Regions from separate parts of the Homo sapiens genome. Here regions 2, 3, 4, 5, 6 and 7 are each linked to region 1. Evidence: promoter capture Hi-C in 16 types of primary human blood cells and fetal thymus (Javierre and others, 2016). All regions are on one chromosome and are shown on one strand. Each heading gives the region's core, a stretch centred on a gene start or on the middle of the fragment in contact. The rest is flanking DNA. Distances are from core to core; before and after follow the strand shown.

Region 1 (4,172 bases), core at 675-3,174:
CATCAGATACACGTAGCAGCCGTGACCAAGACATGGTGCCCTAATACCAAGTGTTCTTGGGTTAAAGGCAGGCGGCTTTTTAATTAAATCTTAAAGCACTGCAATTACTGGCAAGACAGCTGGTCTTAAGCAGTTTTGTGACTGCCCTTTTCATCCACTACATGACTATTCCGGCCTTTCTGGAGCACTTTTGAAAATCTACTTGACTCTGTCCACAAGACTGAGGAAAGTGAAAGCAAAGTCCCGGGAAAGCGGGAGATGATTCAGCCCGGGGTTCTGCCCCTCGCCCCTCCAGCAGCCTCTACAGTTAGGGAGCTCTTGAACTGTTCTCAGCAGGGGCCCCCAAAAAGTCAACCCTTCCCCAGGTCTGCGTTCTTCGGGAGAACACCTTCTGCTGGAAAGCTGCTAGCTTACCTGAGCTCAGCCGTGCTCCACCTAGCTTAGGCAAGTTAAATAAGGCCAGGAGAGAGCCTTTAATGCGTTTTAAAAGCGACAGACCCTCTCTCCTGAGTAGCTCGGGCCTGCGCCCCATCCCCCCGCCCCCCCCACACACACACCTGGCGCCCGGGCTCCCTGGTGCTCGCTGGCTGCGGGTCCGGAACGCACCCTTCCCGAGCCGGGTCCTGCGCCACCGGCGGGCGGGCGGGAGTCACTGCGAATATAGGAAGCAGGGGCGATTTCAAATGCTGCTTTATTCTTACAAATACTGTAAAAATTAATATAAAAAAGTGAGCATGCTCAGTCTTTTCCTCTTATCTACAATACAAAGGGTTTGTCTGAAAAGTCTGGTTTTTTTTCTTTTTACAAATGTACCTTAGCTGCATCAACAGGAGTAAGATGTAGAAAAAGCTACCATTACAAAAATAATTTAAGGGAAAATAAACACGTTTAGCTTCTCTCGCAGTTTAGTGGTGGTAAGTCCAGGCTGTAGCTTCTTTGCGCTCCTATGTCCCAAGAAACTGCAGCGGGCACCCGGCGGCTCTGGCTGCGCCAGGGCAGGGCGCGCTCCGCTCCGGGCCGTCGGGTCTGAGGTATGGGTCGTTGCTGAGTCTCTCCCGCCCCGGCCGCGCGTTACCGGCAGTCTGCTGTCCCGGCGGCCGGCAGGAAGGGCGGGCTGGGCAGCTGCTTGAAGAACTGCCGGAGGCCGGCCAGGTCCCGCGTGAGCTGCTCCACGCGCTGGTGCAGCTTCTCGTTCTCAGCCGACAGCTCCACCAACTTCTGCTGCATCTCCTGGTTGCGCCGCTTGGCCTTGTCGCGGCTCTTGCGCACGGCGATGTTGTTGCGCTCGCGCCGCTGCCGGTACTCGGGGCTGCCGCGGTCCGGGCCCCTCTTGCCGGCGCTCTTCTCCCGGGCGGGGCCGGGCGCGGGGGTCTGCCTGGGGCTGCTGCGCGGCGGCTCCGGCGACGTGGGCGGGGTGGGCTGCCCTGCGGCCGCCAAGCTCACCACGGTCTGTGCGCACGCGGCCACCTGCGCGGGCAACAGCGAGCCGGGCGCGTCGCCGTCGCCCCAGTCGGGCTCGCGCTTGAGCAGGCGGGGAGCGGCAGGGCCCGGGCCCAAGGGGCGCGCGGGGCCGCCGGGAAGAAGCTCCAGGGGCCCCGCGCCGCCCGCCTTGTGATTGCTGTTGAAGAGGTCGGCGAAGAGCTCGTCGTGGCACAGCTCCAGGGTGGGCACGGCGGCCATGGAGTCGATGTAGGCGCTGAAGTCGATGGCGCTCTCGTCGTCGTACATGGCGGGGGCGGCGGCGCCTGGCTCGCCTAGGGCCCCTGGCTCGGCCCCGCGGCCCGGCTTGCCCGCCCGGCCCGGTTCGTAGAAGGGCGCAGGCTCCGCAGGCCAGGGCGCGCCGCGCGCCGGGCCGTCCAGGCTGAAGAGCGCGGCGCTCATGGCGGCGTCGGGCCGGGCTCTGCGTCCAAGCGAGGCTGTCACCTCGCTGGGCCCAGCCCCGCCGCCTTTTCTAGCCCCGGCTGACGTGCACGCCCCGCCCCGACTCCGGCACCGCGGGGGCGCCCCGGGGCCGCGGGGGAAGGGGCGGGGGCGCCCTGGGAGCCCCCCGGAGCCGCCCCGAGCCTTCCCGGGGCGCGCCCCCTCTCAGTTCCTCCCCGGGGCCCCCTCCCCGGCCCTGGGGACCCCCAGCCCACGTTGCAGGAGGGTGCCCGCGCTGCTGCTCCCTCCCCGGCCCGGGCCGGCCTGCGCTGCGCTGCTGGGAATGACACTCCCTCTGCCAGCACTCCAGGGCCTTCTCTTCTTCCTGTTTGTGGGCTTGGAACCTCCTCGCTCCTCGGGGTTGGGAGTGAAATCAAAACCAGGACTTGGCCGCAGCGCGCGCGTCCCAGGCCGGCTCCTGTCGCCGGAGGGCGGGGGGTGGAGACCCGTGGGAGAGGACCCGCGCGTCCAAGGACGCCCCCCGACCGTGGGCACGCGCGTGAGGCCCTCGCCCCGCGCCTCCACCGTGGGACCAGATGCGGGAAGAGGCGTGGGGGACCAGACGTGGGGACAGCGGCGGCCTGGCAGGCGGGGAGGGCTGCCCGCACCGCACTCGGGCGCCTCGGGGAATCCGGGCCGGTTCTCGCTGCTCTCCTCGGAGGTCCCGGGTCCGGCCGGCCCTGGGGGTCGAGGCCCAGAGACGCGGCTGCTGCGTCCTGGCCGAAAGGCCGACGGGACGCTGTCGCCAAAAGCAGAGCAGATGGGGGAGACGCGGTCACGACACCGCGTCCTCCGCCGGCTCCTCGAGGTGCGGGCTCTCCGGCCGGACGCTACTCCCCGACCCCGCAGACCCGGGCGTCCGCCGCCAGCTCCCGCGCCCGCGTTTCTTCCAGGTCTACGGAAGCAGTGCCATCGTGTGGCGGCATCTTGCGTTAGACCTGTTTTTAGTTCCAGGCTCTTTCCCTGTTAAATATTCCAAAAAAGTGCCTTGAACCTAAAGTAGTTGGGTCCTTTTTGGGAAACAGGTAAGATCTACCAGTAGCTATAGCAGGGTGCAGATGGGCCTCGACTCACGATGGGGTTACATCCCGGTAGACCCATCGCACACTGAAAATGTCTTAAGTAAGAATGGGCTTTGTCATGTGTCCTGCAATTTGAGGCAGGCATTTCTGGTCAGACCCATTTATTATTTTAAATTAAAAATATGGTTTTTTTCAGCCGAGCACAGTGGCTCATGCCGGTAATCCCAGCATTTTGGGAGGCTGAGGTGGGCGGATCACTTGAGGTCAGGAGTTTGAAACCAGCCTGGTCAACATGGTGAAACCCCATTTCTACTAAAAATACAAAAATTAGCCAAGCGTAGTGGCGTGCGCCTGTAATCCCAGCTACTCGGGAGGCTGAGGCAGGAGAATCGCTTGAACCCGGGAGGCGGAGGTTGCAGTGAGCCGAGATCGTTCCATTGCACTCCAGCCTGGGCGACAGAGCGAGACTCCATCTCAAAAAAAAAATTGAGATGGGATCTCACAATATTGTCCAGGCTGGTTTCAAACTCCTGGGCTTAAGAGATTCGCCGGCCTCAGCCTCCCAAAGTGCTGGGATTACAGGCGTGAGCCACCATGTCGGGCCCAAATCCATTAAATCACTATCGCTAGTCACACCTGCTCCATGTCGAGTCTCTTCCTGCGCAGGCCTCTCACCAGATCTGCGTCGGAACACCAAGCTCTACTAACTGCTGTGCAGTTTCTGCAGTCAGTTCCAGAGGTCATTTCTAACGTTGCACTATGGGATATTTAATAGGTTTCCTAAAGAACAAACATATTTCTTTAGAGTTACTCAGAGGGTACACAATGATGATGTCACACAATTAATTACCTATTAAGACTGAAATCCAGCAATGCATAGAGTGTGGACTTACGCACATCCAGAAAAAGTTCTAGCACAAATTGTTTTGTTCTCATATATTTCAGAAGCCATAGAAACACTATTAAAGCCCTCCCTAATCACTTAGGGAATGCAAAATCAATATTTATAAGGGATAACCATATCCTCCTAAAAACAACTCAGAGACTATTTTCAGTGAGATGATTTACTGATTCCGATAGTCAATATAGTTACATTTTATTTTTATTTTTATCTTTATTTTTGAGACGGAGTCTTGCTCTGTCGCCAGGCTTGAGTGCAGTGGCGCGATCTCAGCTCACTGCAACGTCCGCTTCCCGGGTTCAAGCGATTCTCCTGCCTCAGCCTCCGGA
Region 2 (4,172 bases), core at 549-3,048, 810 kb before region 1:
ATGTGGAATGGAGAGGAAGGGTGTGCTCGGCAAGAGGAACAGCAAGTGCAGAGGCTCAGAGGTTAAAGAGAGGAAACCAGAATGAGGAGTGAGGGCCAGAGTTGGGGCCAGAGAGAAATGCAGCTAGACTCTTATGGTAGTGGTGTGCTTAGCTGTGGTCTGTGCAGGATAGTTTCCGAATAGAGCAGGGAGACATGAATGCCCTGAGATCAAGGGCAGTGGGAAAGTGCCTTGTGGGGAGCCTGGTGTCTGCAGGCAGGCAGAGCAGGGACCAGGAATGGCTGATGGCTGGAATCGCTAAGCCGCATAGGATGGACTATTATAAGTTCAGCACCTGGACACTGGCCACTTCAGATCTGTCTATACTCAGTTGTAATCCAGGCCTTTACCATTGTCCTCCATATTTCCACCCAGCTTTCTTTTCCATTTATTGGAGAGCCAGGCCACCTGGGTTCTGGTGCTGCTGGATTCAGGCCCTGCCCTCAGGCTCATGGCAAGCAGGTAGACAAAGAGAAAAGTAGACAAAAAAGATGGGGAGAAACCACTAAGCCAATACCATACCCACATAAACTCCAAACTCACATGTCTTTTAACATGGCACTGGGTGCTCCTGCAGTGGAAATCCACACGTGTTGTGGTTACAGCATCTTGTCTCTGAAAAAACTTCACAACCACCATTGTGCTTTGCCCCGCATGGCCCTGCTCAGGGGTAACTGTCCATCTTCCCTAAAGGAGGAGAGGCTGCCTGATGTTCAGGGAGCCCAGAGGTCTTGGCCAAAGCCACAGCAATGCCTGTGGATATAGGCCCACAGAGCAGCCCTACTCAAACTAGGCCCTGGCCCATCAGAATGCTCTGCCCTACAAGCCCTGCCATCCCACCACCCACCCCTCTGCTGGGCCTTGTTGGGCTGCCATGGGAATGTGACTGGCCAGCTCTCAGTGCCCTGAAACCCATGAGGTAGACCATCGGGCCAGCCCAGCTGTTCTTGGATCCTTCCTGATGCATGCCAACATCTGGGGCCACTTGGGTCCCAAGGAGAATTGTTGAGCACCAGGGCAAGAAGCATAAGGACTCACACCATCCCTCCCAGGTTCCATCACCCATCACTTCACCTGGGCTTGCATGAGCAGCCCCATCAGGCATGAGAAGCACATAGCATGTCCTGCCCATGGGGAGGCCTCCCAGGGGAAACAGGCCAGGCTGGGGGGCCATGGGGCTTTACAAACATCTCAAAGGCAGCAAAAGGAGGACTTTTCCTCAGCCAATAGCACCCCAGGATTTGAGCCGAAAGTAGGATTCAAGACACATGACTCCTTGCTAGAGGGATGCCATTTTTAGGGTGAAAGTTTCCCCCAGTGAAAAAACTATGCCAGGAGGCCAGCTCAGGTCAGCATCTCCAGTGCCAAACTCAAACAGATAGTTGATGTCTGGTGATAAATAGTGAAAACTTCAAGGAAAGGAAAGGCCGGGCCCATGCTTTGGACATTTATGTTCACACATCAGGAACTTTTTGCCAAGTGCATAACCATTCAGAGGTACAAAAAATTAACAAGAGCCACAGAAAAGAGGGGTATTCTATAATATTGCATAATACATGGTGGACTTGTTAATCACTGTATCACATAGGCCAGTGCTTTATGCACAGACTTGCTACAGTGCTCTCTTTTCATTTACCCCAGGGTTTATCTCTACACTAAGTCTCTCCGGGAAGTTTAGATGCACAGCTTCTGAATCTCTTCATACCAGAAATCCTCCCAGCATCCCAAACCTTTTGTCGGCAGTTCCTGCCATTGGAGGAATTATTGCAAATGGTGCATTAGTTATCTATTGCTGTGTGACACATTTCCACAAACATACCAGCTTTAAATTCCTTGCAGTCATCATCTCGCAGTTTCTGGAGGGGCAGAAATCTGGGCTCACCTGGGTTCTTTTCCTTAGGAGGTCTCATGAGCCTTCAGCCAAGATGTTGACCAGAGTTGAAGGTCTCATCTCAAAATGTGACTCGGGAGAGATCCACTTCCAAGCTCATGTTGTCTTTGGAGGATTGGCATTTCGTGGGCTGTTGAATTGGCCACAAGTCCTGCCCACACTTAGGGGAAGAGGTGACATGAAGACCTGGATGCCAGGGGGTGGCATCACCAGCGGCCAGCAGGCTGGCTGCAGTAGGTGGCCTCTAGATTGCCCCAGCAGCCCCTGCTTGCTGGTATTCACAGCCTAGTGCAATTCCCTCTTCTTGAGTAACTCGCTGTGATGTTAGGATCTCTCAGGGTCAAGGGGATGCCACTTCTGTGACAGATGTGATTGAATAACATGAGATTGTAACATCCTTATTGACAGCAGACACTCACCCTTGCCAGCTTGTATGACGCTAGCTGCTACACCATGAGCTGTCCGTGTGGCCAGGAACTGAGGGTGTCCTGCAGCCACAGCCATCAGGAAATCAAGGGGCTCAGCATAATAACCCACAGAGAACCGAGTCCTGCCAATATCACAGGAGGGAGGAACAGCCCTGTCCCAGCCAAGATCTCAGGTAGGGATTAGCCAGGGTTCTCCAGAGAAAGAAAATTGATAGCGTATATATGTGGATATATGAAAGGGGATTTATTATGGAAATTGTGATTACAGAGGCTGAGGAGTCAGCCCCATAACCTGTCCTCTGCAAGCTGGAGACCCAGGAAAGCCCATGGTGTAGGTCAATCAGCATCCAGTGGCCTGAGAACCAGGAGCCCCTATGTTGGAGGGCAGGAGTAGATGCGTGCCTTAGCTCAGCAGATCCCCTCTTCCCCAGCCTTCTGTTCTGTTATGTTCAGGATGCCAGCCCACATCAGTGAGGACAATTCTTTTTTACTCAGTGTGATGGTTAATTTTGTGCGCCAGCTTGACTGGGTTAAGAAATACCTAGAGCACCGATAAAGCATTATTCCTGGGTGTGGGTAAGGCTGAGTGGGGAAGATGCCCTGGATGTGGGTAGGCACTGTCCAATCAGCTGGAGAGAATCCTAAAGAAAAAGGCAGAGGAAAGGTGATTATCCCGCTCTCTCTCCTGGAGTTAGGACACACTTCTGCCCTTGGTCATCAGAACTCCAAGCTCTCTGGCCTGTGGACTCCAGGACTCACACCAGAACCATCCCCCAGCCCCCACCACCCCACTGGATTCCCAGACATTGAGCCTGGGACTGAGAGTTACATATGGGCTTCCCTGGGTCTCCAACTTGCACACGGCTTATTGTGGGACTTTGCAGGCTTCATAATCATGTGATCCAGTTCCCCTAATAAGTCTCTTCTCACATATCTCTGTCTGTAGCTAGATATTGATATCCTACTGGTTTTTTTCTGGAGAACCCCAGCAAAAACACCATCCATTGATTCAATTGCTAATCTCTTCCAGAAACACCTTCACAGACTCACCCAAAAATGCTTTACTAGCTATCTGGGTGTCCCTTAATCCAGTCAAGTTGACACATAAAATTATCCATTGCAAGGTGAGACAACAACCCTGGCTTACACCTTGTTTGCAGGCTTGTTCCAGGGCCAGAATCAGAGGACTCAGCCCCACTGGGCCTGGATTCCTGACCCACATAAACTGTGAGATAAATGTGTCATGTTTTAAGATGCTAAATTTGTGGCGATGTGTTACACAGCAGTAGATGGATAATACGGACTGCCTTCTCTAAGAACCTGCTGCTCAACTCTCTGTGCAAGTCTTTATTCTTCAAGATTTCTCCAAACTTTCCTTCTATACAGGGTTGACTGAGAAAGTCTTTCAATGGATGACAGCACCTTGGAAGAGGGAAAACTGCATAAATTCTACTTCATCAACACACCAACAGTCCACTCTATGCTTAACACAGAAGGAATGTGATGCCCTGGGCAGGAGAGCATTTGGTGTTTAAGTGCAATGACCCCTAGCAATAGCCACAATTGTTACCACTTGTCTCAACCTAAATAATTTCTACTGCATATCTAAGCTTCTACAGAACTTTTGCATAACAAACAAGTATGGTTTCTGTCAGTAAATGTAAATGCTCAGGATGTATTGCTGGCACCCTCATTGCCTTTACTTTCAGAAGCAAAGGACACACAAGGTCTTTCCCATCTCATTCGCCCTCTTTTAGATAAAATGACAGATATGACTTCTGGATCAGACCCTGGTCTGACTTGCCTACTTGTTC
Region 3 (4,172 bases), core at 465-2,964, 790 kb before region 1:
CTCCTGAGGACAAATGGAGGAGTAGAAAGCAGCCAGAGCCTCTCACAGGTCAGCACTGCTCTCCAGCTCAGCCCTAACTCTTAGGAGAGTTGTGGCCCAGAGCCTCCTGTGACGGAAAGGCTGCTGGTGAGCAACTCTTGAGGGCCTGTTCCCCTCTGGTGTCCTGAATTCTTTAACAAACCAATCTATGGGCCTGAATTCCATGGTATTTGTGATTTTACCACACCTGGGCAAATGGTCTGTAACTTTTGGATAAAAGCCTTTGTCCCCACCTACCTTCTGTGCTGCCCAACCTGTTCTCCTAGACCAATGCTATTCTAATGTCCCCCGAGAGTTCCCATTCCTGAGGTCTCTCCATCCCAAGGATAGATTATGAAAAGAGAAAATAGGAATAGGAAAACAGAAGTTAACCTCTAATGTGGGCAGCCCTTGGGATTCCTTACCAGATTGATGTCTGTGTCTTTTCAAACATGGATAAATATGGATATCACTGAATGCAGAGACATGATAGAAAGATGATCTCAACCTCACTCAAATAAAGAAAGAACCAAAGAAAGCCCCAGGGATTGTTAAAATGCAGAAGAAACCAGCCCAAATTCTCCAGCATCTGTAGCTAGTGGCTTCCCCGGGCAACTGAGCAGAGAATGTGCTCTCTAGACTAGAGTTCCTGACCCGCATCACAAAGATATGGTACAGTCACAAAGGGGTCTTGAGCTTAGGGAGGGGACAAAGGAGGAAGTAACCCCAAGGCCCCCATTATTCTCCCCTCTCTTCTCTGGTCCTTCCTACTTGTCACCCATAACTGTTCTTTCTATCATCTATCTATCTATTCACCCATCCATCTACTCATCATCTATCCATCTATTCACCCATCCACCTACTCATCATCTATCTATTTATCAGCAATTGTCATGTATCATCTGTCTATTATCTATCACCTATTGATCTATCAATCAATTATCTATCATCTATCACTTATTAATCAATTATCTATCAACTGTCTATCACAATCACTGTTTCAATCTATCCTCATCTATCTGGTACCTATTAATTTATATCATCCATCTGTCATCCATCAACTATCATCTGTCATACATTCATCTATTTATCTGTCATTTATTAATTAATCAATCAATCTATTATCTATCACCTATCACCAATTAATCTATGTCTCTCTTATACCTATCTTTCTTATCTATATATCATCTCCCTTAATGCAATTTCCTCTTTACCCCAACTTTACCCCAGATATTCATGAAATTTTCTTTTCTTCCTTAGAGATATGCTTGGACCTCACCATCTCCACAGCTTTTAGAGGTCTGATCACCTCCCAGGAATTATTATTAAATTTCCAGGCATTATTTTTAAAATGTTGACTTTAAAAGTATAATACAAAGACAGAAAATGTAAACATCATCAGCACACAGCATGACGATTTATTAATCACTGACTTACACCAAGAAACCAGCGCTGCATCAAAGCAGATTTCCCAGGATCTGGACGCCACCCTCACGCTCTCTGCCTATCACTCCTTAAGACCACCTCCCTTCTGTGCCCAGTGCATCACTCTATGATTCTCACCAGTGCTGATGACTTTCCCCAGGCACACTGTTTTGCTTCTCCTCTGTACCTACTCCCTTAGCCCTCGCAATATTCCTCACATTACATATGAGGAACCCAGTGAGCAGAGTTCACAGTGACTGCCAAGGTCACACTTCTAGGAACCACAGCAGAGCTAAGACCAACCCAGGGGCTCAGGCTCTGGAATCACATCCTTTAACCACTGGGCTGGGTTGTGTCAAGCATCATGACAGATGGGGGCATGGTTAGAGTGCACAGTGAGATGTGGGTTCACAATACTCTTCTTTTACTTCCTCTCACTTGCAGCAGAGTTCAAGTTGAGAAGATGTAAAAGAAGAGTATTGGGGGGGCCGTGGTGAGGAGGCAGGGCTACAAGAGGGGAAGGAAGGGTCACAGGACACAGCTATTAGGTGCAAAGGCAGATCTGAGCCTAGGGCAGATTAGGGGCCATTATTTATTTGCCATTTCACAGAGGACAGGAGAAATCTGAGGTGAGTAATAGCCCTGTATCCAGCAGGCGCAGCTCAGTGCTCTGCTTGAGGCTGTTGCTAGATGTGTCTGAAGTCAGTCATTGTCTCTGGACTGAGGGGTCAGGTGAAACCTGACTCCTTGGCACTCTGGGGGGCCTGGGTTCCTGACTGCACTCAAGCAGTTCACAGGATGTCTGCCCAGGTCCATGCTGTAGGAGGATCAGGGGAGAACTGAGAAGTGCGTGAGGCTCAAGGTGAGCATGGCAGGGCTAGGGGTGAGTGTGGGCTCCAGGACGGGTGGACTTGTCATGGTGGCCCACGGTTAGCTAGGGGAGGGGATGAGGCTATGGGGCAGGAGGCTTTCCTCTCAGCTCCACCACTCACTGGTTATGAACTGTGGATGGGCAACTTTATCTCTCAGAGTACTGCTTTCTTCATGTCTGAGACTGATTGCATCACTGCCCAAATCAAATTGACATGTGAATTAAATAAGGTAGAATTTTATTTATCTTATAGATGGCACATAAGGGCCATTGATACCTTTCAATTTCTCTTCCCTGTGTTGTCTTTGCTGAACTCTCTTCTCTTTGATACTGATCTAGGGTAAGTATTGATGAGATCTTACTATCTTGCAAAAGAGAGATAAAATGGAAAAATAATGTTTTCTTTGAATGATTTCTTGGTGTTAGGGGTTTCCATCACTCTTGCATAATTAGCAACAAGACCTGACTTAGACATTCAGCATGGAGCAAAGAACCCTGGCAGTACAGCCAGAACCAGCTGCGGGCTGGATGGGTGTATCAGTCAGTGTTCCCTAGAGAAATACTTACATATGATATACATTATATGTTTACAAGTATTATACATTCATATCAATTTATATAACTATGTAATTTATATTAATTAGATATATGACATAATTATATATAACGAGTATTATGGGGGCTAAGTCCTAAGGTCTGCAGTCATCAAGAGACCCAGCAGGTTCCAGTCCAAATGCTGGCAGCTTGAGACCCAGGAAGAACTCATGTTTCAGTTGGAGTGTGAAGGCAGGAGAAAGCTCATGTCCCAGCTCAAAGGCAGTCAGGCAGAAGGAGTTCTGTCTTAATGAGCTTTTGTGTTCTATTCAGGCCTTTGGCTGATTGGATGGGGCCCACCCAAATTAGGGAGGGCTCTCTTCTGTACTTAATCTAAGATTACAATGTTCATCTCATCCAAAAGCACTCACGGAGACCTGCCCAGAGGAATGTTTGCTCAAATCTCTGTGTAGCGCACAGCCAGTCAAGCCGACGCCTGGAATTAACAGATCAATGGTGACTGAAGTTTCAGACTGGCCTCACACCAACCCTGATGAGATTCGGGGTGGAGAGAACTTTGTCAAGTGCTGCTGAAGGATGAATGGGATTAGTAACTAGGCAGCGGGAGATGGAAACCAGAGCACGGGGCTCACGGGGTGGTGGTTGGCTGGCACTGGCTGCGCGGCAGCTGAGGGGGTCCCCCGGAGCACCCGCGGGGTCCTGGTGCACTCAAGCCTCTCCGGAGGCGGCCGTCTTTGTCCTTAAGGTGGAGTGCCGCCCGGGCCTCCAGGGTGATCGCCGGCGCAGGGATGCAGAGCCGCTGCCTTTCTGGGCGCAGGGAAGGGGCCAGCGACTGCGGTGCAGGGAGGCTGCGAAGTATCTGCAGGAGGAGGGTGAGGCCGGCTGGCTCCGGGAGGATGGGATTGGCAAAGGCCTGTAGGACCCGGGGGTGTCAGGGATTCTCCCATTCGATTTCTGTCTGTTTGCGACCCCTGTGAGGCGCGAAAGAACAGGAGTGGCGGACGCTCACGGCTTTGGACCTGGGGGTCCTGCATGGCGGCCTCAGGCGTGCCCGACGCTTCCCTTCTGAAAAGCGGGGAGATTTTCCTGGAGGAGTGATTTCCTGAAGAGCCATGGCCGGAAGCCCTGAACTTTCATGGTCACAACCAACCCCAAGGAAAAGGGAGTGTGGGAGCCGGCGTCCCACATTGGAGCAGTGGACCCGGTCCTGTGGCCCACAGGTGTGCTGCCGTCCCCGCCTCCAAGAGCAGAACTAACTCATGTAGCCATGCCTGAAGGATGTCAGGGCTATCAACAGAAAAGA
Region 4 (4,172 bases), core at 875-3,374, 690 kb before region 1:
AAACACACTGAAGTACACAGATCAGTGTCACTATGAAGCAACCACATAAACAAGTCTACAAAATAATCAGGCAGCATCATGATGACAGGATCAAATTTACACCTAATAATTTTTTTTTTTGGAGACAGTCTTGCTCTGTCGCCAGGCTGGAGTGCAGTGGCATGATCTTGGCTCACTGAAACCTCCAACTCCCTGGTTCAAGTGATTCTCTTGCCTCAGCCTCCCAAGTAGCTGGGATTATATGCATGCACCACCACACCCAGCTAATTTTTGTATTTTTAGTAGAGACGGGGTTTCACCATGTTGACCAGGCTGGTCTCGAACGCCTGACCTCGTGATCCACCTGCCTTGGCCTCCCAAAGTGCTGGGATTACAGGTGTGAACCACCGCGCCCAGCCTACACATAATATTTTTAACCTTAAATGTAAACGGGCTAAATGCCCCAATTAAAAGACACACATTGGCAGGCCGGATAAAAAATCAAGACCCATTGGTACGCAGTCTTTAAGAGAGCCATCTCATGTGCAAAGACACAAATAGGCTCAAAATAAAGGGATGGAGGAAAATTTACCAAGCAAATAAAAAGTTGAAAAAAGCAGGGGTTGCCATCCTAGTTTCTGAAAAAAACAGACTTAAAACCAAAAAAAGACAAAAAAGGGCATTACATAATGGTAAATGGCTCAATTCAACAAGTGCTAACTATCCAAAATATGTATGAACCCAATACAGGAGCACCCAGATTCATAAAACAAGTTCTTAGAGACCTAGAAAGAGACTTAGACTCCCACACAATAATAGTGGGAGACTTTAACACCCCACTGAAAATATTAGACAGATCATTGAGACAGAAAATTAACAAAGATATTCAGGAACTGAACTCAGCTCTAAATCAAGTGAACCTAATAGATATGTACAGAACTCTCCACCCCAAAACAGAATATACATCCTTCTCATCGCCACATGGCACTTATTGTAAAACTGACCACATTATTGGAAGTAAAACACTCCTCAGCAAATCCAAAGAACTGAAATAACAATAAACAGTCTCTCAGACAACAGCACAATCAAATTAGAACTCAGGATTAAGAATTTCACTCAAAACCATATTACTACATGGAAGGTGAACCACCTGCTTCTGAAAGGGTAAATAATGCACTTAAGGGAGAAATCAAGAAGTTCTTTCAAACTAATGAGAACAAATATACAATACACCTGGGAATCTCTGGGACACAGCTAAAGGAGTGTTAGAGGGAAATTTACAGCACTAAATGCCCACATCAAAAAGCCAGAAAGATCTCAAGTCAACAACCTAAATAACAACTAAAAGAATGAGAGAACCAAGAGCAAACAAACCCCAAAGCTGGAAGAAGGCAAGAAATAATCAAAATCAGGGCTGAACTAAAAAAGATAGAGACACGAAAAACCCTTTTAAAAATCAACATATGCAGGAGCTGGTTTTTTGAAAAAATTATTAAAATAGACCACTAGCTAGACTAATGAAGAAGAAAAGAGAGAAGATTCAAATAGACAAAACCAGAAATAATAAGAAGGATATCACCACTGACCCCACAGAAATACAAACAACTATCAGGGAATACTATAAACACCCCTATGCACATAAACTAGAAAATCTAGAAGAAACAGATAAAATCCTGGATACATACAACCTTCCAAGACTGAACCAGGAAGAAACTGAATCCCTGAATAGACCAATAATGAGTTCTGAACTTGAGGCAGTAATAAATGCCTACAAACAAACAAAAAAAAAAAGCCCAGGACCAGATGAATTCACAGCTGAATACTACCAGAGGTACAAAGAAGAGCTGGTACCATCTGGAACTATTCCAAACAGCTAAACTCAATCTATGAGGCCAGTACACCAAAACCTGGCAGAGACATAACAAAAGAAAACTTCACTCCAATATTCTTGAAGAAGATTGATGCCAAAATCTTCAACAAAATACTGGCAAACTGAATCCACCAGCACTGCAAAAATGCTTATCCACCACAGCAAAAAGCTTATCCATCACAATCAAGCTGACTTCATTCCCAGGATGCAAAGCTGATTCAACACACACAAATCAAATGTGATTCATCACATACACCGAACTAGGTACAAAAACCACATGATTATGTGAACAGATGCAGAAAATGCCTTTGATAAAATTCAACATGCTTTCATGTTAAAAACTCTCAGTAAACCAGGTATTAAAAGAACGTACCTCAAAATAAAAGCTTATATGACAAACTCACAGCCACTATTATAGTGAATAGGCAAAAGATAAAAGCATTCCCCTTGAAAACCAGCACAAGAGAAAGCTGCCCTCTCTCACCACTCCTATTCAACATAGTATTGGAAGTTCTGACCAGGGCAATCAGGCAAGAGAAAGAAATAAAGGGTATTCAAATATAAAGAGAAGTCAAACTATCTTTGTTTGCAGATGACATGATTCTATTTCAATAGAACCCCGTCATCCCAGCCCAACAGCTTCACAGAAAAAGCTCATAAGCAACTTTAGCAAAGTCTCAGAACATAAAAGCAATCTGCAAAAATCACCAGCATTCCCATACAACAACAGGCAAGCCAAGAGCCAAATCATAAATTAAATCTCATTCACAACTGCCACAAAAATAAAATCACTTTTGCTATGCTTTAGCAGAGACTGGCAGCATTTTTCCCCTAAACTAGAGAACTATGGATCTTGGAACTTCAGAGAGATTATTTGGAGTATCTTTGCAGAAGAATTTTTTTTTTTTTTTTTTTTTCTGAGAGACTTTTGCTCTGTCACCCAGGCTAGAGTGCCATGGTGTGATCTCATCTCACTGCAATCTCCGCTTCCTGGGTTCAAGCAATTCTCATATCTCAGCCTCCTGCATAACTGGAAATACAGGCATATGCCACCACACCCAGCTAATTTTTGTACGTTTTGTAGAGATACCGTTTCCCCATGTTGGTCAGGCTGGTCTCAAACTCCTGACCTCAAGTGATCCAACCACCTCAACCTCCAAAACTGTTGGGATTACAGGCAAGCGCCACCGTGCCCATCCCAGAAGAAATTTCTAAGCAGCAAATCATTCAAGATATAACCTGGCTGTTTATTTATTTGAGACTGCGTATAGCTCTGTCACCCAAACTGGAGTGCAGTGGCGTGATCTTGGCTCACTGCAACCTCCACCTCTCAGGTTCAAATGATTTTCCTGCCTCAGTCTCCTGAGTAGCTAGGATTACAGGCACGTGCCACCACACCCAGCTAATTTTTGTGTTTTCAGTAGAAACGGGGTTTCACCATGTTAGCCAGGCTGGTCCCGAACACCTGATCTCGTGATCCACCCATTTCGGCCTTCGAAAGTGCTGGGATTACAGGCGTGAGCCACCACACCCGGCCATGACCTGACTGTTTCTTAACGTGTATAGTCATGTGTCTTCACAAAGAGATGGTCTGAAATTGGAATTTACATTTTAAAAAAAAAACAGAGCATAAAAATTTGGAAAACTTGCAGCCTGACCATGTGTTGGGGAAAAAATGCACTTTCTGGGGAGATATTCAAGATAGTGGCTGTAGAAATTTGCATAAGAGAAGGTGAATGTTAATAACCAAGACAATGGGAAAAAATGTCTTCAGGGCATTTCAAGATCTTCATGGCAGCCCCTCCCATCAAAGGCCTGAAGGCCTAAGAGAAAAAAAATAGTTTTCTTGACTGTGCCCAGGATCTCACTGCTTTGTGCAGCTTTGGGACATGGAGCCCTGTGTCCCAGCTGCTCCAGCTCCAGCTGTGGCTAAAAGAGGCCAAGGTACAGCTCAGACACTGGCTTCAGAGGGTGCAAGTCCCAAGCTTTGGTGGCTTCTACATGCTGTTAAGCCTGTGGGTGCATAGAAGGCAACAATTTAGGAGCCTCTACCTAGATTTCAGAGGATATATGGAGGTGCCTGGATGTCCAGGCAGAAGTCTGCTGCAGGGACAAAGCTCTCATGGAGAAGCTCTACTAGGGCAGTGCAGACGGGAAATGTGGGGTTGGAGATGTCACAGACAGTCCCCACTGGAGCACTGCCTCATGGAGCTGTGAGAAGAGGGCCACCATATTCCAGACCCCAGAATGGTAGATCCACTGACAGTTTGCACCATAAACTGGAAAAGCCGAAGGCACTCAGTGCTAGTCCCAGTAAGCAGCA
Region 5 (4,172 bases), core at 777-3,276, 570 kb before region 1:
CTGAAGAAGACCACTGGCCTTGTGGGATTGGCTGTATGCAATACTCCACACGAGAGGCTAAGAATATTGTACACAAGGATTCTTGATGCTCTTGAGGAAATCCCTAAAAATGCAGCATATAGAAAGTATACAGAAGAGATTAGAAATGAGAAGCTGGCTATGGTTAAAGCGGAACCAGAAGTTAAAAAATTAGAAGACCAACTTCAAGGCAGTCAATTAGAAGAAGTGATTCTTTTTTTATTTTTATTTTTTGAGACGGAGTCTCGCTCTGTCGCCCAGGCTGGAGTGCAGTGGCGGGATCTCGGCTCACTGCAAGCTCCGCCTCCCGGGTTCACGCCATTCTCCTGCCTCAGCCTCCCAAGTAGCTGGGACTACAGGCGCCCGCCACTACACCCGGCTAATTTTTTGTATTTTTAGTAGAGACGGGGTTTCACCGTTTTAGCCGGGATGGTCTCGATCTCCTGACCTCGTGATCCGCCCGCCTCGGCCTCCCAAAGTGCTGGGATTACAGGCGTGAGCCACCGCGCCCGGCCGAAGTGATTCTTTAGGCTGAACATGAACTAAATCTGGCAAGAAAAATGAGGGAGTGGAAACCATGGGAGTCATCAGTGGAAGAGCCTCCTGCTGATCAGTGGAAATGGCCAATGTAATTATTAAGTGACTTTGGTGTGTTGATGGGAAACTGATGTAATTAAATATTCTGTTATATTAAGAGCATGTTCATATTACTGACATTTTATAATCAAGAAAAGTGATATAGAAAATATGTAGGAGACTGTTAAAATTGGTAATTATGGTAATATGGTCATGTGAATCCATTTTTGATTTATAAAGTGTTCACACAAGTTATTTCAAAGATGATATTTCTATGAACAGAGAGGTCATGGGAAGATTTGCAAATTATTAAAGAAAAATTCTTCAATGCAGAGACCATAATCAAAAAGTAAAGTTTCTTTAGTAGTATGGTCAATACATCATTTAATTTTTCAAGTTATCCTGAAGAAGAAAAGGTCCTTAATTATCATAGTCTAAACAAATTTATAGATCACTGTTTAAAGTAAATAATACGAGTGAATATTTTCAAATGTGATAAAATAGCACAAGTGGCTGGTGATAAAATTTGACATTATGGTTAACCTCCTTAGCTGTGATCTTATGTATGTAAAGTAAAATTTAAATATGTAATTATAGGTTGATTACAAATCCATAATGTCATTTTATTTTATTCATTATTTGAATTATACCATTTACTCTGTTTTCTCATAGTCTTAATTTTATTATATTTTGTTGTTACTGTATTATATTTGAAAACCTTCAAATTAGAATACATTGTACAGTTGAAGAAATTCACTTGGTACTTAAAAGAAAGATTTCCCATTGCATAGAGGTTACTGGAGAAACTTTTCCTTTTGTTGCATTTGTGGAAATTAGTTTTCTGGCCCATGGCCTTTAATTTTCTTAATCAACCTAATTACATCAGGATAGAGGTAGAGTTTCTGTAAAAGAAGAGACATTAAGAGTTCCTGAAATTTATATCTGGCATATGGATAGGCTTATATTCAAAATATCTTAGTCATACGACTATAAGTTCAAAGTGGAATCACTAAATAGTTTGCAGTACGTTTCTAATATAAGTGTAGGTGGGTATCAAAACAAGACAAATGCTGTTCAGGGAAAGAAGTTGGCAAGCTTAATGTTAAACAAAAATAAAATTACATGTGTTTTCGCCTTTAAAAAAAAAATTCAGCAGGCCAGGTGCAGTAGTTCACACCTATAATCCCAGCACTTTGGGAAGCCAAGGCGGGAGGACTGCTTTGAGTTCAGGAGTTTGAGACCAGCCTGGGTGCCATGGCAAAACTCCATCTCTACAACAAAATAAAAAAAAAAATTAGCTGGGCATGGTGGCACAGGCCCAGTCACTCAGGAGGCTGAGGCTGGAGAATCCCTTGATTCCAGGAAGTAGAGGTTGCAGTGAGCTGAGATCCACCACTGCACTCCAGCCTGGCCAACAGAGCCAGACCCTGTCTCAAAAAAAATAAAAATCAGCAAACTCTGGAGGTGGCTGGGATTCTTTTCCTTCCACCTGAGGCTTGGATGCAGCACAATCAAGCAGGGTGTGGCTCCGACACCCATCCTGGGCCAGGCTTCCCCTTCCTCCCACAGACAGTTTCCCTCTCTCTCAATCTACATAGGAGTTTCCCTCAGAAAAAGTCCTAAAGCCTAAAATTCTACAGCCTCCTATGCTGCCACCCTCAAAAGCCCTAGGGGAATGAATACTACTGTAAAATACACACTAAAATACTAACAGAAAAAGAGGAAAATGAGTGAGAACCTGATGGGAATAACAGAACATTCCACAAAATGAAAGCTTCTATACTCACAATGAAGAAAAAACAGCTGAGGAGCTGCGCTGAGGCGAAACTGCAAGGAAGCTCCCTCCTCAGCAGTCAGCACAGTGGATAGGAGCTGTCTCTTCCCAAGGGCGCAGTCCCAAGTCATCCCAAAGCTGCCGCAGTGTCCCGTCCAGCAAGTCCTGAGGGACCTGGAGTGCTTCACTTTCTCCTCACTGTGGACGCCACACCTGCCACACGGTGCCTGCAGGTAGAACACCCATGTGCACCATTAAGGGCAGAAAAGGCAGTTTGAACGCCCCTGCTGGTCACAGTGTGCAACGCAGGATGGTTCCACCTCATGGTCATGGCCCCAGTGCTGTGAAATTAGAACTGGTGACATACATCTGGGAAATAACTGTCTTGTAACAAGACTGTTGTCATTTAACTACCAGTTTTGTTATCCTGTAACTTCTTGTGGGATGAAGAAAATTGTGTTCCAAAGAAATGATGTTTGCCATATTATTGGAGATCAGTTGTAAAACAATGTTGGATACTTCCTACGAATTACCAGTGGTTTGCTTTGTGAAGAGGTTTAAATTCCCATCTCTGGTGCATTTTGGAACAAGTGGCTTTGAGGTCAACACCTTGAAAGGTAGCCCTCAAAAGAACAAGAGTCTTCAGTTCCCACACAAAGTAAAAAATGTGAACTTAATTTTAGCATTGTTAATAGGGAACAACTATCCATGAATCCCTGCATCAAAATGCCTATGTTATAACATCCTCTCTTCCTAAGGCACAGGAGCAAGTGGTACATACTTGTCTGGCAACCAGTTTCATTAATGCTGTTGTTGTATCTGTCCAAAGATGAGAAGTAGTTTGTTACCAGTTTCACTACCTTTTGGAGTTTTAGATAACATATATCCACACTGTGATATTTACACTTTTTAATGACTCCCTTTTAAATAAAATTACCACTTTATGTGAAATCCAGTTCATGCATAATAAAGCTTGCCTGTACATATATGGTGTTGGGCATACACCATACATTCGTACATAATGCCAGCCATGCCTTAATCATGGGATAAGAATGGCCAGACACTTCCCACATTTCTGCGACAGCAAATTGAGCGCTCACACAGGGCTCCTGGCTGGAGAACAGGTGAGACCCAGACCTGCCCATGACTCTCCTCCCTCAGTGGTCCATCATTCAATTATTTAGGCACCTCTGGGGACAGACACCAGGCTCTCTGAGGCTTCAGATGCCCCAGAAAGCCTGCTCTCCTAAAAACAGTGGCCTTGGATGGAGACATTCTTGCTGCATTTCTCCTTAAATATACTCAATTTGTGTGTGTGTGTGTGTGTGTGTGTGTGTGTGTGTGTGTGTTTGAATCAACACAATTGTCCCACAGAAACTTCTAAGGGCCTAATAAATATGTGCATAGAATTTTGATGGGATAGTTTTTTAACTATATAAAAAGATATAAATAATATGTAATTTTAAAAAAATGGTGCAGTGGCTCATACCTGTAATCCCAGCACTTTGGGAGGCCAAAGCAGGTGGATCACCTGAGTCCAGGAATTCAAGACCACCTTGGGCAACACGGAGGAACTCTGTCTCTACAAAAAAAAAAAATACAAAAACTAGCTGGCCATAGTAGTGCGCACCTGTAGTCCCAGCTGCTTGGGAGGCTGAGGTGGGAGGATGACCTGAGCCAGGGAGGTCAAGGTTGCAGTCAGCCGAAATTGCACCACTGCACTCCAGCCTAGACAACAGAGACATTGTATCAATAAAAAATAAAGAAATGTCTGACAGATAATCCTTCAGCGTTTTTATCTAGT
Region 6 (4,172 bases), core at 831-3,330, 550 kb before region 1:
GCAATGTGCTGCCCTGCACGGTTGAACCATTTCTGATGCTTACTAGGCATTCTTTCCCATGTGCCCTGTCTCCTTTTCAATGCCAGTGACTTCCAATGGCCTATGCTTATTCACAGCAATAGTACCTAGGGAGTGCCCATGAAGCCCTTTTGTCCTGGTCCCTTGGTCTGCATGGGTTCCCTGGGGAGGCAGCTGCTGAGTGGGTCGGTTCCTGGGAACCTGCATTTAGGAAGCTCTGGGCTGTGCAGGCATCACCCTGGGATTCAGACAGGTGAGAGGCCCAGCCCTTAGAGGAGCTATGTCAGGGAGAGTGCCTTCCACCCTGAAGCCACCCTAGACCTGGAGGAGCTGCAGTCCCCTCCTCTGCTAAAGGGCCTTTGAGGAGAGTGGGGCTGACTCCCAACTGGGCAGCTCTTGAGAAGGACAAACGGCTGGTTTGTGCACCCATTGTCTGCTCTGTGTCTCCGTTGGTCCCTCTGTCTCTTCCTTTTCACATTTCTGCACATAAAATATACTGGCGTTTGTGTTCCACAAGGCAAATGTCCACTCTTTGCCTTGTAGACACTCAGCGGTTCATTTGCTCCTCAGATATTTTTTAACTCAGTGCTGGCTCATTGGCAACATGACCTTAGCCTTGCCTCCCTATGATTCGTGCTCCCAGAGCTTCCGGTTGATCCTCTACAACACACATACCGAGCCCCTGCTCCTCTACCCCAACCCTCTCCCATCCTTCAGTGGCTCTCACTGTCCTACAGCAGGGGTGGCAAATCTCTAGTGCCCACCCAGTACACTCTAGTGGAGTGTACTGCTCCACCCCTGCAGTACAGGGGACATTGCTAACTGATCTGTCACTTTTTGCCCTGATGCCACCTCGGAATCTTTTTCTTTTTTTTTGAGATGGAGTCTCACTCTGTCTCCCAGGCTGGAGTGCAGTGGCGCAATCTCAGCTGACTGCAAGCTCCGCCTCCGGGGTTCACGCCAATCTCCTGCCTCAGCCTCCCGAGTAGGTGGGACTACAGGCGCCCGCCACCATGCCGAACAAATTTTTTTTTTGTATTTTTAGTAGAGATGGGGTTTCACCATGTTAGCCAGGATGAGTCTCGATCTCCTGACCTCGTCATCCACCCACCTCAGCCTCCCAAAGTGCTGGGATTACAGGCATGAGCCACCGTGCCTGGCCCCACCTCGGAATCCTTCTTAACACATGCTCTGAAATTAGCACACTAGCAATGAAATGAAGATGACTTATGAAATAAAACCCACAGGTCATCCTCTGTACTGCAAGGTGGAACTCAATCTCTGGAGAGTGGCATTCCAGGCTTTTCATGACCCCTCCAGCCATTTCCCTTCTGCCCTCTCCAGGCTCTCTAGTCCCCATTCCATGCCTTTGCTCCTCCTTTTCCATCTGTCTAGAATGTTCTTCATCCCCTATCTCCTGGCAAACTACTCCTCATGCTTCAAGACCTCTGTGAAGCCTCTTCCCCTCCCCCAGCACTCATGTGCTCTCTCTGACTCTGTCTCTCTCTCTCTCTCTCTCTCTCTCTATATATATACACACACACATATACACATACGTACATCCATATACCTACACATGCACCTATTACTGACTATCAAACCCCAGGAAAGCTTACTAGCAAGGTCACTGAGAGTAAGGATGCTGCCTCACTCAGTGACCAGCAGTGACTCATATGTGCATGTGGAATCACCGTACAAAGAAAATGTAGGTTCTGTGCTTGCAAATGGCCCTGACCTTCATGGCACTACAGGGTGGATGATTAGCTACTCACAACACAGATGCAGAAAAGGGTCCATCTTTACCTGCCCCAGTATCGAGAAAAAGCAGTATGCATTCATTAACTGCACCTTTCAAAGTACTGTCCCGCCACATAGAGTTTCTGCTCCCTATCTTCCTTCAATAAATTCCCTCTTTTTTGGTTAACTTGTCTCTTGGCTGAAATCTTTTTCCCAATACAAACAAAGGGCTGAGGATTTCTGCACTTCCTAGTACCACTAATATAGCCACAGAAACTTTCTGTAAATGGTTTCATGGTATGTTTTTTCCATCCTGTTATTTTTAAGGGTTTTTTTTTTCTTTTTTTTTTTTTTGAGTCGGAGTCTCGCTCTGTTGCCAGGCTGGAGTGCAGTGGCGCAATCTCGGCTTACTGCAACCTCCGCCTCCTGGTTCAAATGATTCTCCTGCCTCAGCCTCCCAAGTAGCTGGGTGTCTGCCACCACGCCCAGTTAATTTTTTGTACTTTTAGTAGAGAAAGGGTTTCACCATGTTGGCCGGGATGATCTCGATCTCTTGGCCTCGTGATCCACCGCCTCGGCCTCTCAAAGTGCTGGGATTACAGGCGTGAGCCACCGCACCTGGCCTTTTTTTTCCATTTTAATAAGTACACTTAACATGAGATCTCTTAACATGAAATCTACCCTCTTAACAAAATTTTAAGTACATTATACAGCATTGTTAACTGTAAGCACAGTGTTGCACAGCACATCTCTAGAACTTACTTATCTTGCATAACTGAAGCTTCATAGCCCTTGAGCAGTGACTCCCCATTTCCTTCTCCCTCTGCCCCTGGCATTCTACTCCACTGCTGTTAGGCTGACTATGATAGAGACCTCACACAAATGGAGCCAGGCAGCATTTTTTCTCCTGTGACTGACTTATTTCACTCAGCATAATGTGCTCCAGTGTTATCCATGTTGTAGCATATGGCAAGATTTAATTCTCTATGAATTTGAATAGTATCCCATTGCATCTATACACCACATTTTCTGTAAACATTCATTGATCAGTGGACCTTACATTGCCTCCCTGTCTTTGAAACTGTGATTAATACTGCAATGAATAAGAGTGTATCGATATTTCTGCAAGATCCTAACTTCCATTCTTTCGGATGCATACTCAGATGTGTTCTTTGTTTTAAGGGTATATATTTTTATTTAGTTTGTCAATCCAAGTGAGAGCCTGGCAGGGCTCTATCACTTCAGTCACAAGAAACTGAGACCTGCCCCTCATCTCTGATTTTCATAGGTTTTGTCTCACCTCTCAGCTTCCTGCCTCCTGTGGATTGGGATTCCATATCTGTCATAACAGGGATTAGTGTGGGCTAGAAATCCTCGGTCTCCTGTTTCTTTTCCATCCCTGTGATATCATAAATTATGAATTTGGTCTTTGACCCCATTTCCCATCATACAACTCATAAAACGTTTAGAATTACTGAAGTGATGCCTTTTTGTATGCCACTGAGATGACTGATGGCCAGCAGTCCCTAGGTAGCTTCAGGATAGGGGCCAGTCACCAGAAAGACCAAGGCAGGGTTAGAGGATAGGGACTTCCAGCCTTGTCTCCCAACCTCCATGGAGGGAAGAGGGGCTGCAGGTTAATCACCAGTGGTCAGTAGTTTACTCCATCAAGCTTGTGTGATGAGGCCTCCATAAAAACCCAAAGGGGGCTGGATTGGGAGAGCTTCTCGGGGACTGAACACATGAAGGTTACTGGATGGTTGTGCACCTCTTCCCATACCTCACCCTATGCACCTTTTCATCTGTGTCGGTTATATCCTTTATAATAAACCAGTGAATTTAAGTAAGTGTTCTCCTGAGTTCCGCAAGGCATTCTAGCAAATTAATTGAAGCCAAGGAGGAGTTGTGGGATCCTCAGTTTATAGGTCTTTGGTCAGAAGCACAGATGAAGCAACCTGGGCTTGTGATTGGCATAAGAAGTGGGGCACAGTCTTCGTGAAAGAGCCCTCAAGCTGTAAGATCAGACCCCATCTTCATGTAGATAGTGTCAGAACTGAGTTGAGTTAGAGGACACCCAGGTGGGGTCCACTACAAAACTGATGGCTTGCTTTGTGGGAGCGAGAAATCCCCACACATTTGGTCACGGAAGCCTTCTGTGCTGATTGTTGTGGTGACAGCAGAGCAAAGGCAGTCTGTGCTCTTTCCACTCAGCCCCGAAGACACTGAATGACACTCATAGCGCTTTCAGCGTCCTAGGGCATGGGCAGGTGTACTTTCACTGTGTAGCCTGTCTTTTCCTTTGTGGCGTCCCAGTCGTCCATCCTGGGGCATGTTACCGATCCACTTGCAGACAGTCTCAGAACCTGCAGACTTCACAGGCTGCCTTATAGATAAAGAGCACTAATGTGCATGAGTTT
Region 7 (4,172 bases), core at 1,229-3,728, 530 kb before region 1:
CACACAGGATTTTTATGTGAGAACTATTCTGTAGGGCACATAATGGTAGATACGAGACACTATGCCTTTCTCAGAACTCTCAGAGTGCATAATGCAAAGCTGAAGCCTAATGTAGGTTATAGATTTTAGTTAATAACTATTATTATTTGTCAATAATAATTATTATTATTTGTCAATTATAATAATTATTATTTGTCAATTATAACAAACATACCACACCAATGCAAGATGTTAACAATAAGAGAAACTGGGTGACCACAGTCTAAGAATGCTTAGAAACTATGTGTGCTCTCCGCTGAATTTCTGTAAGCTTAAAACTTCTCTAAAAATAGTCTATTAATTAAAAAGATTGAGTGTTCACTTTTCCATCAATTATAAAAATTACCATGAAATCAAATGGTCTTTCTTTGACAATATTTGCAGAGTCAAATTCAGTTGAATTTTGCCTTGAAAGAGGGTTTCCTTTTAAAAGACATATTAAATCCATTAATGTGCACACACACAGACACACACAGTCACACATACACATATACACACACAGAGACGCACATGCACATATACACAGATACGCACACACACACACATGCCCAGGCACACAGGCACGTACACACACATATAGACAGATATGCACCATCACACATACACACGTGCACACATGTAGAGTCACACAAGCACACATACACAGATGCACACTCACACACATGTCCTCACATGATTCCAAAACAGAGCAATGTCCTGCATGTGTCCAGTCAGGCTTCCTCCCACAGCACAATAGGGTCAGTGGGGAAGCCCCTTTGCTTCTTCCTCTCATTCCACCAAAGCACTGTTGGGTGCAGGGGCCATGGCCGTGCTTACAAGAACCCCACAGGCCAGCCAGGTGCGGTGGCTCATGCCTGTAATCCCAGCACTTTGGGAGGCTTAGGCAGGCAGATCATCTGAGGTCAGGAGTTCGAAACCAGCCTGGCCAACATGATGAAACCCCGTCTCTAATTTAAAAAAAAAAGTACAAAAATTAGTCAGGCATGGTACCGGGTGCCTGTAATCCCAGCTAGTTGAGAGGCTGAGGCAGGAGAATCGCTTGAACCCAGGAGGCGGAGGTTGCAGTGAGCTGAGATTGCACCACTGCACTCCAGCCTGGGTGACAGAGCGAGACTCTGTCTCAAAAAAAAAAAAAAAAAGAACCCCACAGGCCAAAGCTGAACCGGCTCAGGAGGTGGTACTATGGAACCATCTGAAAGACACGCTGGGTCAGGAATGTTGAGCTCGCCTCTATTTTCACCACAGAAAACAGGAGTCATGTGTGCACAGCCTCCTAAATGGGCCAATGGTCCTCAATCTTGCATGTCTCAAGATAATCTGTGGAGCTTCATAAATGTATAGCTCCTTGGGTGAAAATTCTGATTCAGGAGGTCAGGTGAGGTATAGATTTCCATAGTACAGAAAATAAAAGTTCCTCGGATGGTTCTGATGTTGAGCCAAGATGTATAAATCACTAAAATAAGCCATTGGAAAACATGATTGATTGTAAGGATATGGGTATGGATAAGGATTTAGGAGATGCCCTGAGGTCCTCTCTCTTCCAGAACCTTATTCTTTTCTTCATAGGCATGTGCCATGCTTGGTAATTTCACATTAACTTGTTTTGTGTCTGTCTCCCTCACTAGAATGTCAGCTTCTTAAGGGCAGGCACTGTGGCTGCTGTATTCACACCAATACTCCCGGTACCAGTATCTGGGAAGGCCTAGTGCTCAATAAATATTCACTGAATGAATGACAAGGAGCTGACTTTATGTACTTTTCATTGTCTTATATTTCAGATAGTGACTATATTTTTTTTTCTGTAAAAAATACAAGCATCCAAGTATGGTGGGAAAATCTACAAACACTATCACACACACAGAGACAAGAGCACACATACAGCAGTGACTGATGAAAGCTTAGGTGAGCTCTTAGTTCTCAAGGCTGTAGACTGAGGGAAGGGAGAGGAAGCAGGTTGGGGGCGTGTGTGTGCAACCCTTTTCCTCACTGAGTTGCAGGTAGGGGCATTGTGAGGCCAGCACCTCCAGCCTGGAACACTGATCCAGGACCCCCTAGTGTCTGGGGCTTGAGGCCCCACCCTGTCTTCTCAGGACTCTAAGCACATCTATTTCCAGGTATTTTCAGCTGCCACAGCCAGGAGGAACAGAATTGTTCCCCTCCCTTTCTGAGGCTCACTTTTAAAGCACTGGACTTGTGGAATCCAAGGCTCTCCCTGAAACACCAGTTCTGAGTGGATTTAAGAGGGTGGGGAGGGGAAGGGATCCTCCCCAACTAAATTTCACAGCTGCCCTCCTCATGCAATACAGGCCACGGCCTGCAGATGGGCAACAGTGATGGAGAGAAGCAGGAGTAGTACAGAATGAATTTGTGAAGACATGCACACACATGCACACACACACACATTTGCACATGCATGCACATGCACACATACCCCACTGCAAGAGAAAGGAATGTGACCCGTGGGCTGGTCTCTGGGCTGGGAGGCCCTGAGGCTGAGCCTATGGGAATCAGTCAGGAGGTTCTGCTGTTGCTCAGGCTTCTGCCTAGAAGCACCTTCTGCAAGATTGATGCTCCCCAGAGACTGGGGAAGAATCAGTAACTACCTCCTCCCCTGGCTGCCTGAGAACACCCAGGGCTTGTTATAGAATCTAACTGGGGTCCACTCACCCAGCGCAGTAAAACCAGATATCTAAACTGAGGGTTTTGCAGTGAATAGAAAGGAAGGCATTTATTGCAGGGCACCAAGCAAGGAGAATCTGGCGGGCTCCTGCTTAAAATCTGAACTCCCCGGTGGCTTGCAGATAAGGGTTTTTAAAACTAGTAGTACATTTCAGGAAAGCAGAAGCTACAGGCAAAATCACAAATCAATACACAGAAGTTACATGTTGTTTTTGGCCCCAAAGGGTGGGATATCTTGAAGCAGGGGCTTACAGGTCATAGGTAGATTCAAAGATCTTCTGATTTGCAGTTGACTAAAATAGAGAAGCTTTGTTTAAACATTTGGGGTCAGTAGAAGAATGTTAACTGGTTATGAGGAATGACTTTCTCTAAACCCCTTGGGAAGAAACTTAGAACCAAAAATCGTTTAAAGTTTAGTCTTCACTTCCCCTTTATCTGGGGGAATATGTCAGTGGATCCTTTCTGTGGGGTCCTCAGTGGGGATCCAAGCCTCTGAAAGACAACTCAGGGACATAAGCTAAGAGATTATCATTGGTTTCTGTAGGGAAAGCTAATATCTCTGGGACTCTAACCTCTTTAGCTATTGTTTTAGCCTACTGTTGTCTTCTTAACAAGTCACTTATTTACTTGTTGGGGATTGCGAAGTGCCTGGAATTGCCCTCAGAGGAACTCAGGATTTTCCTTTATTTCTGTGCTTGGGGTCTGCAGGCCCCTTAAAAAGGGGGTTCTTGCTTTCTCTCACATCCCTTACCCCAGGTTAACATAGTCAAGAATCTGAGAAAAAGGCAATGAAAATAAAACCTCTGTGTGTCTCACTTGGGAAGAATCAACTGTGCAGCTCCAGAAGTCACAGCTGCTCTCAGGTGAGCCTCCTTCCTAAGCTCTCTCCCAGGGCTGCTCCAGGGCAGCTGTCCCCATCCAGATGACTAGAATCCCACCCCATGAGACACACCAAGCCACTTGCTAATTCCTTGGGAGGTCTTGCATTTCCCCCGCAGGCCTCATCTCTGGAAACTCTCCCCTTATCCCACCCTCTCTCAAAGTGCCCTCTGCCCCAACCACGTGGCCAGTTGCTCTTCCTCTATACTGGATCCACTGAAGTCTCAATGAACTGCTCCTTTGCCCACACACCTCTCACTTCTGCTGTCACACTGAGCCCCCTCTAGGGCCCCCTGTGTGGCTGTGAATATTCCACCAGACTGAGTCTGGTTGAAGTCCACTGTGAGATTCTGCCCCTTCTCCCTGAGCCTGGCTCAGCAATGGCTGCATGGCAGACACCATCTATCCACCCATCAGAAAGGGGTCCTGATCCAGATACCAAGAGAGGGTTCTTGGATCTTGCACAAGAAAGAATTCAGGGAGAGTCCACAGAGTAACGTGAAAGCAAGTTTATTAAGAAAGTAAAGGAATGAAAGAATGGCTACTCCATAGGCAGAGCAGGGCATTTCCAAAAG

Evidence for each region. The method cuts DNA at HindIII sites, captures the fragments that hold promoters and counts their contacts. A CHiCAGO score of 5 or more calls a contact.
Region 2: a contact is called between a fragment that was not itself captured here and the fragment with the promoter of CEBPD in region 1, in 1 of 17 cell types (neutrophils). The highest score is 6.1, in neutrophils.
Region 3: a contact is called between a fragment that was not itself captured here and the fragment with the promoter of CEBPD in region 1, in 1 of 17 cell types (erythroblasts). The highest score is 5.5, in erythroblasts.
Region 4: a fragment that was not itself captured here is called in contact with the fragment with the promoter of CEBPD in region 1 in 1 of 17 cell types (total B cells); the score reaches 6.0 in total B cells.
Region 5: a fragment that was not itself captured here is called in contact with the fragment with the promoter of CEBPD in region 1 in 2 of 17 cell types (M0 macrophages and monocytes); the score reaches 5.3 in M0 macrophages.
Region 6: a fragment that was not itself captured here is called in contact with the fragment with the promoter of CEBPD in region 1 in 5 of 17 cell types (M0 macrophages, monocytes, neutrophils and 2 more); the score reaches 10.2 in M0 macrophages.
Region 7: a contact is called between a fragment that was not itself captured here and the fragment with the promoter of CEBPD in region 1, in 11 of 17 cell types (M0 macrophages, monocytes, M2 macrophages and 8 more). The highest score is 28.8, in M0 macrophages.

The regions. Positions count from the first base shown.
Region 1 is chr8:47,736,240-47,740,411 of GRCh38, forward strand. CEBPD (CCAAT enhancer binding protein delta) reads right to left here and starts at 1,925. Exons shown (of 1, transcript NM_005195.4): 1 at 674-1,925. The coding sequence starts at 1,881. The coding sequence ends at 1,072. It overlaps SPIDR (scaffold protein involved in DNA repair), which reads left to right. Exons shown (of 20, transcript NM_001080394.4): 20 at 1-67. RefSeq lists an enhancer at 949-1,887 and silencers at 1,284-1,473, 1,964-2,073, 2,114-2,193, 2,284-2,753. The HindIII fragment of the contact is 19,422 bases long and covers 1-4,172 here.
Region 2 is chr8:46,923,358-46,927,529 of GRCh38, forward strand. No RefSeq gene overlaps it. Among named protein-coding and RNA genes, the nearest start is that of LINC00293, 85 kb to the left of the region's middle. The HindIII fragment of the contact is 4,336 bases long and covers 1-3,966 here.
Region 3 is chr8:46,951,220-46,955,391 of GRCh38, forward strand. It overlaps LOC105375814 (a long non-coding RNA gene), which reads right to left and starts at 665. Exons shown (of 3, transcript NR_188092.1): 1 at 444-665. The HindIII fragment of the contact is 7,979 bases long and covers 1-4,172 here.
Region 4 is chr8:47,047,686-47,051,857 of GRCh38, forward strand. All of the region lies in intron 3 of LOC105375815 (a long non-coding RNA gene), which reads left to right. Among named protein-coding and RNA genes, the nearest start is that of LINC00293, 210 kb to the left of the region's middle. The HindIII fragment of the contact is 217 bases long and covers 2,017-2,233 here.
Region 5 is chr8:47,164,883-47,169,054 of GRCh38, forward strand. It overlaps the pseudogene NDUFA5P12. Among named protein-coding and RNA genes, the nearest start is that of SPIDR, 94 kb to the right of the region's middle. The HindIII fragment of the contact is 679 bases long and covers 1,688-2,366 here.
Region 6 is chr8:47,183,084-47,187,255 of GRCh38, forward strand. No RefSeq gene overlaps it. Among named protein-coding and RNA genes, the nearest start is that of SPIDR, 76 kb to the right of the region's middle. The HindIII fragment of the contact is 907 bases long and covers 1,628-2,534 here.
Region 7 is chr8:47,203,830-47,208,001 of GRCh38, forward strand. No RefSeq gene overlaps it. Among named protein-coding and RNA genes, the nearest start is that of SPIDR, 55 kb to the right of the region's middle. The HindIII fragment of the contact is 1,089 bases long and covers 1,935-3,023 here.